Linked DNA regions of Homo sapiens: region 2 is linked to region 1. The links are contacts of gene promoters, found by promoter capture Hi-C in blood cells and fetal thymus (Javierre and others, 2016). All regions are on one chromosome and are shown on one strand. The core of a region is centred on a gene start or on the middle of the fragment in contact, and the rest is flanking DNA. Distances in the headings are between cores, read along the strand shown.

What was found. Contacts are between HindIII fragments. The CHiCAGO score rates a contact against its expected background, and 5 or more counts as called.
Region 2: a fragment that was not itself captured here is called in contact with the fragment with the promoter of NOPCHAP1 in region 1 in 1 of 17 cell types (total B cells); the score reaches 5.5 in total B cells.

What each region holds. Positions count from the first base shown.
Region 1 is chr12:104,984,105-104,987,851 of GRCh38, reverse strand. NOPCHAP1 (NOP protein chaperone 1) reads right to left here and starts at 1,536. Exons shown (of 4, transcript NM_152318.3): 1 at 1,385-1,536. The coding sequence starts at 1,499. LOC105369952 (a long non-coding RNA gene) reads left to right here and starts at 1,482. Exons shown (of 2, transcript XR_007063436.1): 1 at 1,482-1,549; 2 at 3,429-3,656. RefSeq lists a silencer at 1,057-1,306 and enhancers at 859-1,369, 1,370-1,882. The HindIII fragment of the contact is 4,173 bases long and covers 631-3,747 here.
Region 2 is chr12:104,656,705-104,660,891 of GRCh38, reverse strand. All of the region lies in intron 2 of CHST11 (carbohydrate sulfotransferase 11), which reads right to left. Among named protein-coding and RNA genes, the nearest start is that of MIR3922, 67 kb to the right of the region's middle. The HindIII fragment of the contact is 3,196 bases long and covers 855-4,050 here.

The DNA of each region.
Region 1 (3,747 bases), core at 287-2,786:
AAACAGTACAGAGCATAACAATGGTTAAGTGAAGCCAGAAATGGTTACTAGTTGTGTAACACTGGGCAACTTACCTGATCTTCAAGCATTTGTTTCTTCATTAGTAAAACATGCTTGCCTGGTATTTCCCCTTCCCTGAAGACGTTCAACCCAAGGAAAGCAGCCTTTTGGGGATTTTGTCACCCACTCTACCTTTCCAGCCTCATTTCTCACTACTCAAATCATCCCAACTCTCTATCCCATCAGAGTTCCAAGAGGGGAACGTACAAAACTCAAGGCTTTGCACACCCTATTTCTAATACCCGGAAAATCCCTTAACTCTCTGGTTAAAAAACAAATCCTGTTCACCTGCAAAGCAGAGCCGCAACAAACATCCATTGAATGCCTACTACTTAAGGCCTACTGGATTCGTGATCAGAGCACAGAGTCTGGAGCCAGACTACTTGAATTCAAGTCCCAGTTTTGCTACTTTCTAGCCACATGATCTCCAGAAGGTAAATTACCTGTATGATAAATCATGTCTCAGGTTCCTCAACTATAAAACAGAGATAACAGATTTTCTGCAAAGGGTTGTTGTGAGGATTAGATGAGTTAGTTTCTGGGGCATACATAGTAAGGACTACATAAGCTTTGGTTATCATTATTATACTTCCTTCGGAATCTCTGGGTTCTCACAAAACCTTTTCTTCAAGCTAGTATTTACTGACAACATGCCCAAGCCTTTTTAGGCATTCTCCTCCTCACAAAAATTCTACAGGCATTACTACTATCACCATTTTCCAAATGCAAAAACTGAGGCTTAGGGAATGAAAATAACTCTAAGTCCCACCAGTTAATTACTAGTGGAGCTGGGATTCGAACTCGTGCTTTTAAATTCTACCTATAGTGTCTGAAATGCTGTGTGGATTTCCTGGATGCATGTCTCCCTCTACAAGACAGCAGCACTAAGGGGTGGTCTGTGTGGGTGTGAAAGAGGTAGGGACTGTTAGCATAATATTACTCCGCTTCCCCCTATCAGCCAACTGCTCCGACCCAGGCAGCCAAACCAAAAGCCCTCCCTTCCCCAAAAGAACTCGAGAGCTTCCCAGCTTCCAGGGCAGGGCAGATGCCTGGCAGCGGCGCCTGGCAGGGTGGGCGCTCACTACCTTGCAGAATATAAGAACCACTAGCTGGGGAAACCATTCCGGGCCCGCAGCCGGGTGCCCGCCCCAAAGCCCCCACCCCTGCCGCGGGCAGGGCACGCCGGAGCCCCGCAGCAGTCCCCGGGGCTCCCCTCGAGGGTACGGAGCCCGGGCAGGGAGCCACCGGCCGGCTCCCAAACTGCACCGGCCGCGCCTCCTCTGCCGCACGTGTGCGGCCCATGCCGCCGTCACCCGTCCGTCACCTCCGCGGCCGTCGCTTCCCGCCGTCAGCAGCTCCTTGGACACTGGGACTCCTGAGGAATCCCGGGTGGGCGACGAACAACTCGGGCTAGCCTTGGGCTTGCCATGGACCTCCATGCTTCCCTCAAGCCTGCACTCTCAGGCCCGGATGCAGGAAAAAGGCTCGGGTAAGGGGGCGGGGAGAGGGCCGCGATTGGAGGAAACTGCGGTGGGCGGAGTAAGGAGCGGAGAGAGAGGCGGGGCGAGCGTGGTGCAGCCTGGAGGCTGCGCGGGAGCAGGGGCCATTCCTACTCCTGGGAAAAAGAAAGGTTCAGACACTGTCATAGGAAAAAACAGCGGGCAAGGCTCGATTTCGCCAAATTCGGGCATAAAGAGCATAACATTAGGCTTCCCTCCTCTTTATCCTTTTTTATTAAATTTTTTTTTAATTGGTGAAAAAACACGTAACAAAATCTACCATCTTAACCATTTTTAGTTGTACAATTCAGTGGTGGCAGACCTCTAGATCATTTTCATCTTGCAAAACTGAAACCTTATACCCATTTACCCCTACTCCAGTCCCTTGGTAACCACCATTCTACTTTCTTCTTTGTTTCTTTCTTTTTGAAACAGCCTTGCTCTGTCGCCCAGGCTGGTGCCTCAGCCTCCCAAGTAGCTAAGATTACAGGTGCACACTACCACGCCCGGCTAATTTTTGTATTTTTGTATAGAGACGGGTTTTCACCATGTTGGCCGGGCTGATCTTGATTTCCTGACCTCGGGAGATCCACCCACCTTGGCCTCCCAAAGTGCTGGGATTACAGGCGTGAGCCATCATGCCCAGCTACCATCGTTCTACTTTCTGTTACTATGAGCTTGACTACTTCAGATACATTATGTAGGTGGAATCATACAGTACTTGCCTTTTTGTTACTAATTTCACTTAAAATAATACCCTCAAGGTTTAGACATGTTGTAGCACATAACAGGATTCTCTTCTTTTTTAAGCCTGAATAATATGCCATTGTATGTATATACCACATTTTCTTACCATTGATCTCTCAACAGGCGTGCTGGTTGCTTCCACCTCGTGGTCATTGTGAACGCTGCTGCAATGAACATGGTGGTACAAATATCTCTTAGAGACCCTGCTTTTCAATGCTTTGGGATACATACCCAGACATGGGATTACTGGATAATAGGGTAATTCTACTTTTTAGGTTTTTGTGAAGCCTCCGTATAGTTTTTCATAGTGGCTGCACCATTTTACATTCCCACAGTGCACAAGAGTTCCAATTTCTCCACATCCTTGTCAATATTTCCTTTTTCTGTTTGGTTGCTTCTTTCTTTTTGACAGTGAGCATCCCAGTGAGTGTGAAGTGATATCTTGAAGTTTTGGTTTGCATTTCTCTAATGATTTAGTGATGCTGAACACCTTTTCATGGGCTTGTTGGCCATTTATATATCTTCTTTGGAGAAATGACTATTCAACTCCTTTACCCATTTTTTAATCTGGTTATTTGTGTTTTTGTTGTTGAGTTGTAGGAGTTATTTATATATTCTGGATATTAACCCTTTATCGGATATATGATTTACAAATATTTTCTCCCATTCTGTAGGTTGCCTTTTCACTCTATTGCTTCCTTTCCTGTTTGTTCTTTTAACAGTCTTTATTGACCACCTGCAGTATGCCCAGACCCCTCTTATATAGGATTCAAAGCAGAAGCAGCAGAAACCTTGGACCAATCTTTTCTGCTTATTTCTGACAGTGCAGAGGCTCCAGAATCAGCCTGGAGTGGATTAAATCCAGTGTCATATTATTCATTTAGTAGCTGTGACTTTGGGCAGATCACTCCCTGAGCGTCTGTCCTTCTCTGCAGAATCAGGATAATAATACTTCATGGGGATGTTATAAGGAATAAAAGAGGAAAAGGAGTAAAATGTATGTAATGGCACTGGTGATACAGAATTATTGGGCTCCCAGCTAAACCCCACTCTAAAGCATGGAACTGTGGCCCTAAGTGACAATAGCTGACCCCATTTTTCGCCCAAATGTTGCCTTTTTAGCCTGCCATTCCCATATCCTGCGCCCATAAAAGGACCAGCTGACAGAGCAATATGAATGGCTAAGTGTTGGGGATACAAGAAGAGACTACAGATAGCTGCGGCCAACTTCAGATGGTGCGACTTCAGGGAAAGATCACCTTCTTCCCCCACCATCCCCTTTCCTATTCCCCATTCCACTGAGAGCCACATCCATTGCCCAATAAAATCCTCCACATATACTACCCTTCAGTCCGTTCATGTGACCTGATTCTTTCTGGACAGCAGACAAGAACCCATGAGGGCAGGGGCTGGGACATTGCTCCAGAGCCCACACACAGCC
Region 2 (4,187 bases), core at 1,203-3,702, 330 kb after region 1:
ACTAAGACCCCTTTGAACTCCAGCATCCTTTAACTATAACTCCTTCCCTGTATTGCTCCACCCAGTGGCCTCAAATCTTGGGATTGATCAAGATTGCAGGTGGAGCTAGACTCAGTTTTCATAAATGTAAGGTCAAAGAGGAATGGCAGATACGCACCCCTTTACAAGAGCTGGGTTTCGGATTTTCTTCTGAGAAGAAGGGGGTGTGAAAAAGGGCCTGGGATAGAAGGAGTACACTTCTATCTTCACAAGGCTCCTGTGAGCAGCCAAGTCCAGGAGAGGACCTCAGCCGGGATGGAAATTTCCTTCGGGTCTTTCTCTCCTGCTGTTTGCACACAGTGTTCTCTTTCACGGGCCTCCTCTGGCCTATGAAATGAGCTTTCATGTCCTCCATACAAAGTTGGTTTCTCTAATGTGCTGAAAATAGAAGAAACTACCATAGCCATGTTTTCCCTTGGGCTGAAGAGCAAGACGGTGGCTCTGCCATCAAACCCAGCCATTCAGCTGGGGGCCCACCTGCGCCAAGCCCGTGGGCAATGGCAATGCCGCAGAGACCCAGTGAGCTAAAAACCCAGCCTGTAGCCCTTTCCCTGAGCTTTGGGAACGAAAGACTTTCCTCTGGTCCTGGCGTGGTACCCAGGAGACCTTTCTGGGGCTAAGAACAGAGCATCTGTACAATCAAAACAGCATCAACAAGTATTTTCTGAGCATCTACTGTAAAGCCAGGATCTGGGCTAGGTGCTGGGATACAGCGATAAGCAAAACAGATGTGGTCCCTGGAGCGTCTCATTTCTAGTCTAGCCCAGTACAGTCCAATAGAAGTATAATGTGAGCTACATATTTAATTTTAAGCTTTCCAATAGCCACAATTTTAAGAAGTAAAAGAATGAAATTAATTCGTTTTCTTTTAGAGACAGGGTCTCACTCTGTTGCCCAGGCTGGAGTGCGGCAGTGCCATCATAGCTCACTGTAACCTCAAACTCTTGGGCTCAAGCAATCCTCCCACCTCAGCCTCCCTAGTAGCTAGGACTACAGGGGCACGCCACCATACCCAGCTAATTTTTAAAAATTATTTGTAGAGATGGTGGGGGCGGGGGGGGGTCTCACTATGTTGCCCAGGCTGGTCTCGAACTTCTGGCCTCAAGCAATCCTTCTGCCTTGGCCTCCCAAAGCACTGGAATTACAGGCATGAACCACTGTGCCTGGCCATAATTAATGTTAATAATATATCTTTATTTAACCCAACATACCTAAAACATTTTCATTTCAACATAAAATCAATATAAAAATTATTCATGAGATCATTTACATTTTTTGGTACTTATTCTTCAAAATATGGTATGTATTTAACCCTTACAGCATGTCTCAATTCACACTCGCCACATTTCAAGTGCTCAGCAGCCATTTGGAGCTCAGGGCTACCACCCTGAGCAGCACAGCTCTGCACTGTGGGGATGGAGGATCGGGGCAGTGATGGCTCTTGGAGATCCCCGGAAGCTCTTAGAGATACGGAGAAGTAATATTATCACCAACGATCATATGTCTTGAGCAATTATCATGTGCCAGCCCCTCAAGGAATCCTCCCTAAACAACCCTAAGAGACTGTCACCCCACTTTGCAGATGAGGAAAGTGAGGCACAGAGAGGCTACATCACTTGCCCAAAGTCACACAGCTAGTCAATGCAGAGTCTGTGATGCAGAACACAGAGCTGTGCTCTTATCCATGGCATCATCCCAGTTCTTGAGCACGGATCCAGACACATCACATGTTAGAACCCATTCCTCTGAGCCCCTCCAATGGTGCTCTTTTTTGATGGAGATCAAGTGAGAGAACGTTTTGGGAGCCCTTGGTAAGATGTGAAGGGCTTCAAGTGGAATATTACGCCTATTAAGTGAAGTAGAAGTGGTTTATAAAGTATCCTCTGCAGCCAGACTGCCTGGGTTCAAATCCCAGCTTCACCACTTACTAGCAGCGTGCCCTTGGGCAAGTTACTAAATCTCTCTGTGCCTCAGTTCCCTTGTTTATACAATGAGAACGGCAATAGAGCCTATTTCAAGGGTCATCATGAGGATTACATGAGTTAATAAAAATAAAATGCCTAGCACTTTGCTTGGCACCTAAGAAGCAACTACTAAGGAGTAGTTATCATTATTATGGAGCGAACAGGGTACAGATGCGGGGGTTATTGGATGAGAGAGTCTGGGAGGAGGAGAATGGAAGCAGAAGGTAGGAGAAAAGCCAATCATCAAGGCGCTAGGAAGTGCCAGAGTTACGGTCCCCAGGGCTACCTCCCCCTCTCCAGATAAACACCATGGAATGTAAGGTACACGCTGTCATGAATTAACTGTGTCTCTCCAAAATGCACATGCTGAGGTACTAACCCCCAGTCGTTCAGACAGTACCCTTATTTGGAGATAGTGTCTGCACAGAGGTGATCAAGTGAAAATGAGGTCCTTAGGGTGGGGTCCCAATCTAATGTGTCTGGTATCATGACAAGAGGGGGAAATTTGCACAGAGACACAAGGAGACTGCTGTGTGAACATGAAGGTGCATCTACCAGCCAAGGAGACAGGCCTGGGACAGCCCCTTCTCTCATGGCCTGAGAAGAAACCAACCCTGACCACACCTTGATCTTAGACTCCCAGCCTCCAGAAGTGTGAGAAAATAAATTGCTATTTAAGTCCCTCGGCCTCTGGTACTTTGTCATGGCAATGATTGCAGACGCTCATCCTGCCTCCTCTCCTCACCAAGAGGCACTGCAGGTTGGGGGCGGCATAGGGGGCTCTAAGCCAGCCCCCGCCCCAGTCCACACAGCATGCTTGTAAAACTCTGAGTATCCTTGGCTGGCTGGCCTCGGCGGGTCTGTTGCAGTGGAAAACTACCCAGGAAGGTGGGCTGCGTCCCTGAACACTGCTCACTCTGTTTCCCCTGCTACCTTCAAAATCCCCCTCCGTCAACTGAAGGGGAAATAAAGCGTGTCTTTATTCGGGTCCAGGCTGCCTTGGACACCCTGCTCCAGCTTGAGCCAAGGCAGACACAGATGCTTATTGAGCAAGGTTCTCCCTATGTTCCCGACACACCACACTGGAGCCTGGGGACCCTCAAGAATGCAAGTCCAGCCATCGGAGTCCAGAGCGTGAAGGTGGAAGAAGCTGTCTAGGTAGCCAGCGCCACCATCACCTGGGTATTCAAACACATGGGGCACTTGGAAAAGTACAGAGAAAATCCTTCCAAAATTCCAGCAATCTGAAACAACTACTGCTGATTTTCCAAGCTGTGAAATGGAACATGCATTATTTCTCCCATGCTCTTCAGAGAAAAAACATGGGAGCGGGGCTGGCCTGCAAATGATCTCGAGGGTTTTTTTTTTCATCTGCCAGGGAAGAAAGAAGTGCTGTGGCTCCCAGATCAATTCTCCATTCCCAACAAAGGCTGGGTGAGAGGCGTGATCCTGAAAGACTTATACTTCTCTCCATGAACGGCTGTTAAAGTTTCTAATCAATCATGTCTCTCACCCAGGAGAATTAGCTAAACATAGCAAGGCTTGTATTTTAAAACACAAATCGCTGACAATAACTTAAAATGTGCGTAAGTGGTCATTTAGGGTGAAGGATGTGAAAACCTTTAAGGTTTACTCTTTTTGTTTCGCTCCCAGAGATGAGAAGAAAGACATGCAAATAGTGGATTGAAGATGCTTGCTAAACCAGGAAATATGATTCCCCTTGACTGTTAGGTAACAGGAAAAACAAACTGGGATGGCAGCATGGGCTTGGGCTGACAGCCCGGAGCTGAGGCTGGGCTCCATTGCTTCCAAGTTTTCTGGCCTTAAGCAACTCAATTTCCCAATGCCACGCTTTCTTCATCAATTTAAAAAAAAAAAAGGATGAAGTTTGATCAGACGATGCCTGAAGGTCTTTCCCAGCATGCTGTGCCTTTGTAAGGAACACCATATCTTAGAAACATTGAAACTTCTGAAGTATGAACTAGAGGTAGGGAACTGGGACTGTCACCTCTGTAGCCTTAACACCTAGATGGGGTCATTGAAAGCTTGTTGAACAGAAAGACAGTAAACAGCAACAAAAAAAATAAGGATTTGGTCTTCCTTTCTCCTCCACTGTCTCTGGCTTTAAACCAGCAACCCCCCACTGTGGTCACGAAGATGGTTTGTGAGTGTGTATCTGTGTCT